Linked DNA regions of Homo sapiens: regions 1 and 2 are each linked to region 3. Evidence: promoter capture Hi-C in human tissues and cell types (Jung and others, 2019). All regions are on one chromosome and are shown on one strand. The core of a region is centred on a gene start or on the middle of the fragment in contact, and the rest is flanking DNA. Distances in the headings are between cores, read along the strand shown. Region 1 overlaps TACC2 (transforming acidic coiled-coil containing protein 2). Region 2 overlaps ATE1 (arginyltransferase 1). Region 3 holds the start of TACC2 (transforming acidic coiled-coil containing protein 2).

Region 1 (3,992 bases), core at 947-3,446, 140 kb before region 3:
GGGCTGGATGATATCATCTGCCACAGGTGAACTGGGGAGAGAAAAGGGAAAGAACCTAAACTCAGAAACATTCCTACAAGTTTTTGTTTTGAGACGGAGTTTCGCTTTTCTTATCCAGGCTGGAGGGCAATGGCGCGATCTCCGCTCACTGCAAACTCTGTCTCCAGGGTACAGGCAATTCTCCTCCCTTGGCCTCCTGAGTAGCTGCGATTACAGGCGCCCCGCCACCACAGCCAGCTAATTTTTTTGTATTTTTAGTAGAGATCGGGTTTCACCATGTTGGCCAGGCAGGTCGCAAACTCCTGACTTCAGGTGATCTGCATGCCTCGGCCTCCCAAAGTGTGGGGATTACAGGCGTGAGCCGCCGTGCCTGGCCTCCTACAAGTTTTCAATGTGTTTTAACAGCACATTTCTATCTGGATCCTGAGCAGGGCCTCAGTTTCCCTTTCTGTGAGGGATGAGTTTGGTGCTGCTCAAAGCAGGGTCTGTCACCAGTCTATGCCAAGAGTAGTACAGAAACCTCAAGTAAGTGTTTAGAAACCTTTGTAGATCTTTCTCTTTCTTTCTTTCTTTTTCTTTCTTTCTTTCTTTCTTTCTTTCTTTCTTTTTCTTTCTTTTTTGAGACTGTCTCGCTCTGTCACCCAGGCTGAAGTGCAATGACGTGATCTCGGCTCATTGCAACCGCCGCCTCACGGGTTCAAGCAATACTCGTACCTCAGCCACCCGAGTGGCTGGAATTATAGGCACCCACCACCACGCCTGGCTAATTTTTGCATTTCTAGTAGAGTTGGGGTTTCATCATGTTGGCCAGGCTGGTCTCAAACTCCTAGGTTCAAGTGGTCTGCCCGCCTTGGCCTCCCAAAGTGCCGGGATTACAGGCATGAGCCACCACGCCTGGCCCCTCTGTAGCAATTTGATAGACTACGTTCATGTCTGTTAAATCTAATAATAAAAGGACAGGTTCAACATCCTACCACACACAGGACAGTCCCCAAGACAAAGGACTATGTGGTCCAGAACATCAATAGTGCCAAGGTTGAGAAACCCCAGCCTTGAGTTTTATTTCATTTTTCTAGTAATTCATTTAATTATATTTTTTAAAGTTTAGATCTATGATGAGTTAGAAATTTAAAAACAACCCTGGTCCTTTATGGACTGAAAGAGTCTGCAACCTCCAAGCACAGGGTGGCTCAGGAAGCTAGAAGAGGCTCAGTCCTTGGACACCCATCGTCTTGTAGTCAGTTACCCTATTATTTCATCGGGGAGGTCCCTGAGTGACTTTCTGATGAACTCCGCTCTGTAGCCATAAGTAGCAGGACCATTCTTTCCACTCCTTGATCAGATCCTTATTGAAAACCAATTCTCTGCTGTGAACAAGAGAGCAGCGGTCCCTGCCTTCATGGGACGTCTCATGGGACAGCTTCAGGCAAGAGTCAGATTTTTTTTTTTTTTTTTTTTTTTTGAGAAAGCGTCTCCCTCTGCTGCCCAGACTGAAATGCAGTGGCTCCATGACGGCTCACTGTAACCTCAACTTCCCAGGCTCAAGCAATCCTCCCACTTCAGCCTCCCCAAATGCTGGGATTATAGGCGTGGGCCACCTTGCCCAGCCCAGACATTTTTTTTAAATGTTTATTTATTTAGTAACAACTGTAGTAACTGCTAAGAAGGAAGGTGCAGATGGTCATGAGAACACAAACTGAGAACTCTTGGCCCACAATGGGGGTTGTGGAAAACTCTGTGGTGTGGTGAGCATGCTGAGGCCAGCTCAGTAACAAGTGTTTCCTAATGGTTACTACGTATACGTGCCAGGAACTGTTCTAAGTGCGTATAGATGGCACTGTATTTGATCCTCACAACGACCTTTATGAGGGGGATACGATTATTAAACACACTTTACAGATGTAAAAACTAAGGCACAGAGAGGCTGAGCAGCTTGTCGAAGGTTGAACAGCAGCTAAGTGGCAGAACCAGGATACAAACCCAAGCCTGACCCCAGGAGTCATGCTCTTAATCTCCACACTTGGCTTTGTCCCACAGGTGGAAGAGGAAGGAAGAGGGGCTGGGCACGGTGGCTTATGCCTGTAATCCCAACACTTTGGGGAGGCTGAGGCTGGAGGATCAGTTGAAGCCAGGAGTTGAAGACCAGCCTGGGAAGCATAGGGTGACCCTGTCTCTAGAAAAAATGTTAAAGCTTAAAAAAGGAAGAGTATACCCTGACCCTCAGCCCTACCCCCCATTCAGGGAGCCACGTATTTAAAAACCCTGAATCAGGAAGGAGCTTGGTATTCTAGAGGACCTGCAAAATGTCACTGCAACTAGAGTACAGATGAAGAAGGGGGAGTCTGGCTGGGCACAGTGGCTCACACCTGTAATCTCAGCACTTTGGGAGGCCGAGGTGGGCAGATCACTTGAGGTCAGGAGTTCAAGACCAGCCTGGCCAACATGGTGAAAACCTGTCTCTACTAAAAATACAAAAATTAGCTGTGCATGGTAGTGTGTGCCTGTAATCCCAGCCACACGAGGCTGAGGCACAAGAATCACTTGAACCTGGGAGGCAGAGATTGCAGTGAGCTGAGATTGCGCCACTGCACTCCAGCCTGGGTGACAGAGGGAGACTCCGTATTGATCCTAGGCAGAAGAATCAGCCTGAAGCTTCAACCCAATGTTCAGCCATAAAGTGCCTTTGGCATTGACAGTGCGGAGGTCCAGGGTGAATTTCCCAAAACTATCCTCTCAATACGATTGGACTAGCACATGTGTGCACCCACACTACTGCTTATTCTCCATTCTCCATGTTCCCACCCACCATTCCAGTTCCCCCAGAACAAGATCCTGAAGCCCTGTGACCACATCCAAGGAGTCAGAGAAAGAGATCACTGCAAAGAGAAATGGAAGAAGCAGTGAGCCCAGAAGAGGGAGGATGGCAGGAGCTCCGGCTGGGTGTCTTGGTGAATCACAATGTCTAGAATCCTAAACTACAGGCAAACTACAGGGGCACTTTCCAAAATCATAAAATCTGAGTGGAAAAACAGAGCTCCAAAGTTCTGGCAACACACATTGAAAACCATAAAAGACTTCGTTTCCTTTGACACAGCCATGGTTCTTCCAAGAATTCATTTTAAGGAGATAATTAAGGGCATGGGCAAATATGCTGATCACAACTGGAATCACGATAGCAAAAAATCTGGAAACAACCAAAATGCCCAACAGTAGAGGACAGTTCATCAAATTAAGGCGCAACCACAGGATGGACTCGTTTGCGGCTGTTCAAAAAATAAGGTAGGCCGGGCGCAGTAGCTCATGCCTGTAATCCCAGCACCTTGGGAGGCCGAGGCAGGTGGATCACCTGAGGTCAAGAGTTCGAGACGAGCCTGGCCAACATGGTGAAACCCCGTCTCTACTAAAAATGCAAAAAATTAGCCAGGTGTGGTAGTGGGCACCTGAGGCAGGAGAATCGCTTGAACCCAGGAGTTGGAGATTGCAGTGAGCAGAGATCGTGCCATTGCACTCCAGCCTGGGTGACAAGAGCAAAACTCCATCTCAAATAATAATAATAATAATAATAATAATAATAATAATTAAAATAAGATAGATCTTCATGTATCTAGATGCAAACATGTCCATTATTAATTGAACATAGGTTGAAAAAACTTAGCAGCATGATCCACATTTTATGTGTATCAATGATATACATGGGTATGTGTGTCTATACAGTCTATGTATAGACATACACACACGAGCACGTGACAGAGAGAGAGAGAGACAGCGCAAGCATAATAGCCTGAACAATGAAGCAATTTGGACAAGTATTGCCAAGGTGTTAACGGTAATTCTCTTTCGGTGGTGAAATCATTTGTGTTTTTTCTTAATGAAATTTATATCTACTTTCTAGTTCTATGCTGAACACATACTACTTTTGTAAGTAAAATAAATTAGAAACCATATGTAAGAAGTTATTTTAAGTGCCAGGGAACAACTTCCATGTATAACTC
Region 2 (4,445 bases), core at 1,511-4,010, 160 kb after region 3:
CTGAGTAGCTGGGACTACAGGCGCACGCCACCATGCCCAGCTAATTTTTGTATTTTTAATAAAGATGGGGTTTTACTATGTTGGCCAGGATGGTCTCGATCTCTTGACCTTGTGCTCTGCCCGCCTCGGCCTCCCAAAGTGCTGGGATTACAGGTGTGAGCCACCATGCCTGGCCAGGAGCAATATTTTTAACAACCAAGAAGGAGCAGCCTGTTAGGTACCTGGTACGTGCTAGACACTGGGAATACATTTGTAAGCAGTGTAGATGAGGGTTCTGCCCTAGTGAAGGTTACAACTTAGGAGGACATAGGTAATTACAATATAGTGCATAAAGTGGTAATGTGACAATTGAAACTAGATTAATGTTTCATTTGGATTTTCTTACATAGATTTGTACATGTAAGTTTCTTCACCATATATTTATTGTATGATGTAAAGCAAATTGAAGTATTGAACAGCAGGTCTGAAATAACACAAAAGAGCTCATTTACCTGATCTTTTGTATTGAGTAATGAGCTATCACAATGGCATGCTGAAATGATGTGTCTGTCTTTATGTGTAGTGAGCCCCATGTTTTGGTAGATGGTTTTCAAAGCTGTCCACCGTCAGGGCTTCTCATCCCTGTCTGTGCATGCTGCTCCACCCATCAGCAGTCTAGGCTGTTTTCCTAATCCTAGATTGGACTGACCTGGTGACTTACACTGACTGATGGGTAGCCTGGAAGGAACTGCCTGGGACTTCTGGGCTCAGGCCTTGTCTGGCAGCATTCACTTTCTCTGTCTTTGGAGCTAGCCATCATAGTACCCTGCTGAAGAGAGAGGCCACTGTATGAGGCCTGAAGCCATCTTGGATGTTTCAGCTCCACTCAAGCTGAATGCACCTGCGTGACTGAGCTCGAGACAGACCAGAAGAAAACCCACCTAGCTGAGTTCTAGCCAACCCACAGAATCATGAGGAATAATAAGTTATTGTTTAAGGCCACTACGTTTTTGGGTGGTTTGTTACTCAGCAATGGATGACTGAAACACATGGTGTAGGTATGAAAGTGACACCTTCATTCTCTGTTTTGCTGTGCACACTCATGTCTTGAATTGAACTGAGTGGATTTGAGACGTTTCTGATGGTGTAATGTAAGAGTTTTGGCAAAGTCACTTAATTTCCACATGCAGTCATGCCTAGAGATGTGCTCATTGGGCTTATGAGAATTAGTCTTTATAAGACATTTCATTTAATATCCTGACATGAGCTTACGAGGTATCTTAACATGCTGACAAATTTTTATTTTGCTTGCCTTGCTAATGGTGAGCACTACAAGAGGAAAACCAGTATGTGGTCATCGTCATAGTATATAGACAGGATGCATTACAGTAAATTCTCCTCCCTAAGGAATTTTGCTAATAAGTAGCAGTTATATTCTTGTGCATCATATTCTCTAAAATGCTTTTGTTGAATTTTTTGGTTTTATTGTTCATTGTTTATGGGTTTTCAATAAAGACTGATTTACATTGCATATATTCTGTAGTCATTACATTACATTACATAGATATTTTTTGTCCATGACCATAGTCTTACATGTAAGGCACAAGATAGTCACAAAATAATTTAATGACAGGTGATAAATACAGTCATTGATGAAAGGAAATTGTCTTCAAATGTTGTGCTGTCATTGCTCACATGAGCTATTGTAATAATTGTGGCCATTGTAATGAGACTTGGTACTGTTTTAGTGTAGCTCAGTATCAGTTCGGGGACTCAGGCACTGGTTGAAATTAGTGGAAATTGTATTTTCAACTGAGAAGAGTTTCTCCTGGGAGGAGCTCATCCTGCTGAAGCGGGAGGGGTAGTGTGGTTTTCTGGCTGCTGTCCGCAGTGGTGCTGGTCCTCTTGGTCAGCTTCTCTTACAGTTCCAAGGTGGTGGCTGCCCATTCAGGAATTGCGGGCCATCAGCAGTGACTAGAATCAGAAAAGAATTTTCTCTCCTCTGTCTCCTCTTTTTAAAAAAAATTTGCTGGGCACAGTGGCTCATGCCTGTAATTCCAGCACTTTGGGAGGCTGAGGCAGGTGGATCACGAGGTCAAGAGATTGAGACCATCCTGGCCAACATGGTGAAACCCCGTCTCTACTAAAAGTACAAAATTTAGATGGCCATGGTGGCGCACACCTGTAGTTCCAGCTACTCAGGAGGCCGAGGCAGGAGAATTGCTTGAACCCAGAAGGCGGAGGTTTCAGTGAGCTGGGATTGCGCCACTGCACTCCAGCCTGGCGACAGAGAGAGACTCCATCTCAAAAAAAAAAAAAATTATTGCCCATCAACAGTAAAGAAAATGTGATACAGATATACTATGGAATACTACACAGTCATCAAAAAGAATGAAATTATGTACTTTGCAGCAACAAGGATGCAGCTGGAGGCCATTCTCCTAAGTGAGCTAACATAGAAAACCAGATACCACATGTTCTCACTTATAAGTGGGAGCTAGACATTAGATACACATGAACTAAAAAGAGAGGAACAGTAGACATTGGGGACTACTAGAGTGGGGAGAGAGGGAAGGTGGCAAGGGCTGAAAAACTACCTGTTGGGTGCTGTGCGCACTACCTAGGTGACAGATTCATTTGTACGCCAAACCTCAACATCACACGATACACCTTTGTAACAAACCTGCACATGTACCCTCTGATTCTAAAATAAAAGTTGGAAAAAAATTATTGTTGCTAGGTGCGGTGGCTCATGCCTGTAATCCCAGCACTTTGGGAGGCCGAGGAGGGTGGATCACAAGGTCAAGAGTTGAGACCATCCTGGCCAACATGGTGAAACCCTGTCTCTACTAAAAATGCAAAAACGTTTAGTGGATGTGGTGACGCATGCCTCTAGTTCCAGCTACTTGGGAGGCTGAGGCAGGAGAATTGCTTGAACCCACGAGGTGGAGGTTGCAGTAAGCCGAGATTGCGCCACTGCACTCCAGCCTGGCAACAGAGCGAGACTCCATCTCAAAAAGAAAAAAAAACATTCTTGTTGGTTGTGGTAAAATACACATAATGTTTACCCTCTTAAACACTTTTAAGTGCTCAGTTTGGTGATATTAAGTACATTCACATTGCTGTGCACCATCACCACCTTCCATGTCATTTCTTCATCTTACACAATCAGTACTCTGTACCCAATAGACGATAGCTCCCCCTTCCCCACCCCTAAGAATTTGACTATTCTAGGTACCTCAAAAAAGTGGAATCATAGCATTTGTCTTTCTGTAACTGACTTAATTTACTCAGCATAATACCCTCAAGATTCATTCATGTTGTCACATATGTCAATTTCTTTCCTCTTTAAGGCTGAATAACATTTCACTGTATATACCACATTTTGTTTATTCATTTATCCATTGGCATCTGGGCTGCCCCAATCCCTGGGCTGTTAATGAATAATGCTGCTATGGACACAGGGTACAAATATCTCTTTGAGACTCACTTTCCCTTCTTTGTGTATACCCGTAAGTGGAATTGCTGAATCAAAGGTAATTCTATTTTTAATTTTTTGAGGAACTGCCACCCTGTGTTCCATAAGGCCATACCATTTCACATCCTGCCAGCAATGCACAAGTGTTCCAGTTTCTCCACATCCTCACCAGCACTTGTTATTTTCTGGGCTGCCGTTTGTTTTTCCTTTTAATACTAGCTATTGTAATGGGTGTGAGGTGGTTTGTGTCTCTTCCTAAGATTGAGGAAACCCTCACTGAGAAGCCTTCTAGCAGACTTCACATGTTTCGTTTGTCAGAGTTGTGCCTCTTATTTGTATGTGAGCTAATCACTGGTAAGGAGTTAGACTTAAGGCAAGCATGGTTGGTAATGGGAGAAACTGCTTCCTTGAGCACAGGGTCCTGCAGAGTGTGAACATCTGAAAAATTTTTAAAATTTCTGCCTAAGCCAATATTTTCTTTAAACTGAGATATGAAATATATTTTTAACTGAGCTGTTGGTTTAAACATTTCTGTCTGTGTGTCATATTTGTAACCTGTATTGTTGGAAAGAAAACTTCAATAGAAATGAGTCCTTTCAACCTTCATTCAGATTTTAATTGTGTGCCTAATGATACTCATCATATTAACCTTACTTTATTTCCCATAATTCCATCTTGGGAATTAGTGGAAACTATATTATTTAATAAATTATTATATAACTTAATATTTAAATTAAAGTGGAAGGTGGTTGGTGGAAATTATAATTTCTTTTAAAATTAATCCATTCTTAAAATTACTGTATTAATTTCACATCTCAAAATTTTATATATAGGCTTTTTTCCTTTTTTTCTTTACTTTGTCTCCTTTTTGGCGTATGCTTGAAAATAGCTATTCACTTTTTTTTTTTACTGTAAACATAGGGTTTCCCATGCTTTTCAAATATTTATTATTTGCATGCAAAGCTTAGTTCTCTCTTTTTAACCCCTT
Region 3 (4,072 bases), core at 39-2,538:
AAACCTTTCCTATATCCTGATATTTAAAATTCTGGCAGTGTTTGGTGGCTCATACCTATAATCCCAGCACTTTGGGAGGCTGAGGCAGGAGGATCACTTGAGCCTAGGGGTTTGAGACCAGCCTGGCCAACACGGCGAGACCCCCATCTCTATAAAAAATAAAAAATATTAGCTGAATTTAGTGGCATGCACCTGTAGTTCCAACTACTTGAGAGGATTGCTCCTGGTGGGAGGATTGCGTTAGCCCGGGAGGTCGAGGCTGCAATGAACCATCATTATGCCACTGCACTCCAGCCTGGGCAGTAGAGCAAGACCCTGTCTAAAAAAAAAAATCCACAGAAGGTTGAAGGTAAATTTAATAAAATATCTCAAAAAACAGAATTAAAGAAATATTTAAAATATGAAAAAATATTAAAGGTCTGGAGAATCAAACTGTGAGGTCCCTATCTAAGTGACGGGAGATGCAGACATGACACAGAAAAGTAGAAGGAAGAAAGTGTCGAGGTGGTAACATAAAAATATTTCCCATGCTGCACATGCTGGCATGTGCTTGTGGTACCAGCTGCTTGGGAAGCTGAGGCAGGAGAATCACTTGAGCCCAGTAGTTCTGGGCTACAGTGAGCCATGATCATGCCACCGCACTCTGGCTTGGATGACAGAGTAAGAACCTATCTCTAAAAACATAAAAAAAAAAAATAAAATTAATTTAAAAAATAAAAATAAATCATAATTTTTTCCAAAGTTGAAAGACGCAAAAGGGCTCTCACTAGGTGCCTAGCACAGTAGATGAAAATACCTCATACAGTTCTGTGAGTTGGCTGGGCTCAGCCAGGCAGTTCTCACCTTGAGTGATGGTGCTCCCCAGCCACTGAACCTAAGAAGATAGGGTTTTCCTACCCTGTATTTTCAAGTAATGGGAATCAGAGCCAACTTCATTTTCCAGCCCTCTCCTCCTTACTTACCGCACTCCAGCTGTTACCAGTAGGGAATCTGATGTGTCTGCAGCAGCAACTCTATTCTTCCCTCCTCAGAGGAAAAAATTCGCCCAAGGGGCATAAGGTAGAGTAAGAAACCAAGATAACTTTTAGAGCAGGAGTGAAAGTTTTTAAAAAAGTTTTAGAGAGGAATGAAAGGAAGTAAAGTATACTTGGAAGAGGACCAAGCGGGTGACTTGAGAAATCCCAGTGCACTGTACAACCCTTAATGTGGGGTTTTATATGTTGGCACGGTTCTGGGATTTGCGTTTCTTCTCTCCTGATCCTTCCCTTGGAGCAGGCTGTCCACTTATGCAGTGGTCTGCCAGCACTTGGGAGTGGCCGCACTCACAGTGTGTTTACTGAAGTTGTGCGCGTGCTCATTTGAGGCATTTTTCCCTTGCCAGTCGAGAATTCCTAGAGGAAGGTCATATATTAGTTAAACTCTGACATTTTGCCCCTTAGGGCCCATGCTTGAGCCCACTTGCCCAACTCCTGAGATCTTATCAGGAAGCGGCTGACACTAGCTTCAGGTGTTTTCTATCTATTGGGAGCCGGCCTTTCCCTGGTGCTGGCTGCAACCAATGATGATTTTAGAGAAACAGTGTAACAACCACCTGACCATCACATGATGGTCGCCTGACATTCCTGGTTGGGGGTGGGGGTGGAATGCCCTCTGCTGCCCTTCTCATGTTCCCCTAGCTACCTACTCTAACACAGGTATGTATGCCTTTCTGAACTTTCTTGAATGTGTCAGACTTATTTTAACCCCAAAGACTTTTTTTTGCTATTGCCTTTGACTACAATATGACTTCCCTGTATTTTTGCATGACACATTACTCCTCACAATTCAAGTCACATCTCAAATGTCACCTCCTCAGGAAAGATGTTGTGCTGCTCATCACACCTAAAATAGCAACTTTCAGGTCGGGCACAGTGACTCATGCCTGTGATCCCAGCACTTTGGGAGGCCGAGGTGGGTGGATTACTTGAGGTTAGGAGTTCAAGACCAGCCTGGCGAACATGGTAAAACCCCCTCTCTACTAAAAAGACAAAAATTAGCCGGGCGTGGTGGCAGGTGCCTGCTATCCCAGCTATTTAGGAGGCTAAGGCAGGAGAACTGCCTGAACCCAGAGGTGGAGGTTGCAGTGAGCCAAGATCGCACCACTGCACTCCAGCCTGGGTGACAGAGTGAGACTCTATCTGGAGGGAAAGAAAAAATGCAACTTCTATTCTCCACCTATCCCTTTAGCCTATTTAAATTCTTCATAGCACTTACAATGACCAAATCCTTTTTTTTTCTTTTCTTTATTATCTGTCTCCTCCATGAGAGTAGGGACTTTGTCTTATTCATCATTATACAGATGGTTCTGGAGCCACCCAACAAGTTCTTCTTCCCCACTGCACAGACAAAAATCAATTCACTGAGACCATGGCATTGCAATAGAGAAAGAGTTTAACTGCCGCGAGGCTGAGCCCACGTGGGAGAACTGGAGTTATCCCTCAGATCAGTCTCCCTGTAGGCTCGGAACAAGGGTTTTTATGGACAATTTGGTTGTCAGGGGGTAGGGGGATAGTGCCGCTGATTGGTTGGGGATGAAATCATACCGGTGTGGAAAGCAGTCCTCATGCACTGAGTCTGCCTCTGGGTGGGGCCCCAGGACCTGTTGAGTCATGAGTCATGAGTCTGAGTGAGGTCAGTCTGAAAAACATCTTAAAAAACTCAATCTTGGCTGGGCGCGGTGGCTCACGCCTGTAATCCCAGCACTTTGGGAGGCCCAGGTGGGTGGATCACAAGATCAGGAGTTCGAGACCAGCCTGGCCAAGATGGTGAAACCCCGTCTCTACTAAAAATACAAAAACAAACAAACAAACAAACACCCCAATCTTAAGTTCTACAATAGTGATGTTACTTACAGGAGCAATTGGGAAAGTCACAGATCTTGTGAACTCTGGCCACATGACCCCTGGGCATTAAGGGACTATAGAAACTATGCCTACATTTTAGCAGAGTTCTGCCTTCTCCCATTATCCTATTCCTGTGGCCTTTCATTAGTCTTACAAAGGCGATTTTGGTCCCTGAGAAAGGAGGGGGTTAGTTTTAGGGAGGGACTATTATAATCTTTACTTTCAAATTAAACTATAAATTGAATTCCTCCCAAAGTTAGCTTGGCCTATGCCCAGGAATAACCAAGGACAGCTTGGAGGTCAGAAGCAAGATGAAGTCAACCATGTCACATTTCTGTTACTGTCAGTTCTGCAAAGGCAGTTTCCTTCCCTAACATAACAATAATTTGATGTAGATTTATCATAAGATGGCTCAAAAGAGAGAATGCATTCAGCAGAAACTGTACTTTGAGTATTCAAACAACTATTCTGTTTTTCAAATTCAGTACAGTATTCAATAAATTCTATGAGATTCAACACTTTGTCACAAACTAGGCTTTGTGTTAGGTGATTTTGCCCAACTGTAGGCTAATGCAAGTGTTCTCAGCACGTTTTAGGTAGGCTAGGCTATGCTACTTTAACAGCTACATTGTCTAGAGTATTTATGCTGGGGTTCCTTGTCTCACAATGAGAAAGAATTCAGGACACAGACACACGTGGGTGGGTTAAGAAGTAGAAAACTTAATAGAAGAAAGGAGAGAGAGAGAAGTCCAAAACGGGAGGCGGCGGACCGCAGCAGATTTTATAGGCAGGCTGGAAAAGGTGGTGTCTGATTTACGCAGACCTCATAGATTGGTACCATCAGGTATGACATTTACATAGCCCGCGAGGAAGACTGGCTGCCCCACCCTAATCTTATTATGTAAATGGACTCTCCAGTTGATCAGCACTATCTTGACTGCTCTTTAATACATTGTATGGTGGTCGACAAAGAGAAAGGAAGACAGAGCCACCATCTTGAACACATATAGTCCCTAGCTCCTGCCGGCATTCACCTGTGCAAGCTCCCAGCTTGCTTGTTTATATCTGCAGCTCAACTTTATAGGCTGCTCTTTGTTAAAAAACAATTTGGGGCTGCTTTTCATTAAGGATAAAAGCCTTACCAAGGACTTCCGTACCCTCACTATCTGCCCAAGTAATTTCTTCTTAAC

Evidence for each region. Contacts are between HindIII fragments. The study calls those that stand out against the background at their distance.
Region 1: a contact is called between a fragment that was not itself captured here and the fragment with the promoter of TACC2 in region 3, in 1 of the 25 tissues and cell types used here (adrenal gland).
Region 2: a contact is called between a fragment that was not itself captured here and the fragment with the promoter of TACC2 in region 3, in 1 of the 25 tissues and cell types used here (pancreas).

The regions. Positions count from the first base shown.
Region 1 is chr10:122,128,648-122,132,639 of GRCh38, reverse strand. TACC2 (transforming acidic coiled-coil containing protein 2) reads right to left here. Exons shown (of 23, transcript NM_206862.4): 6 at 1-31. Among named protein-coding and RNA genes, the nearest start is that of BTBD16, 140 kb to the left of the region's middle. The HindIII fragment of the contact is 5,552 bases long and covers 1-3,992 here.
Region 2 is chr10:121,824,873-121,829,317 of GRCh38, reverse strand. All of the region lies in intron 10 of ATE1 (arginyltransferase 1), which reads left to right. Among named protein-coding and RNA genes, the nearest start is that of ATE1, 100 kb to the left of the region's middle. The HindIII fragment of the contact is 5,400 bases long and covers 61-4,445 here.
Region 3 is chr10:121,986,379-121,990,450 of GRCh38, reverse strand. It overlaps TACC2 (transforming acidic coiled-coil containing protein 2), which reads right to left and starts at 1,288. Exons shown (of 23, transcript NM_206862.4): 1 at 963-1,288. The HindIII fragment of the contact is 30,860 bases long and covers 1-4,072 here.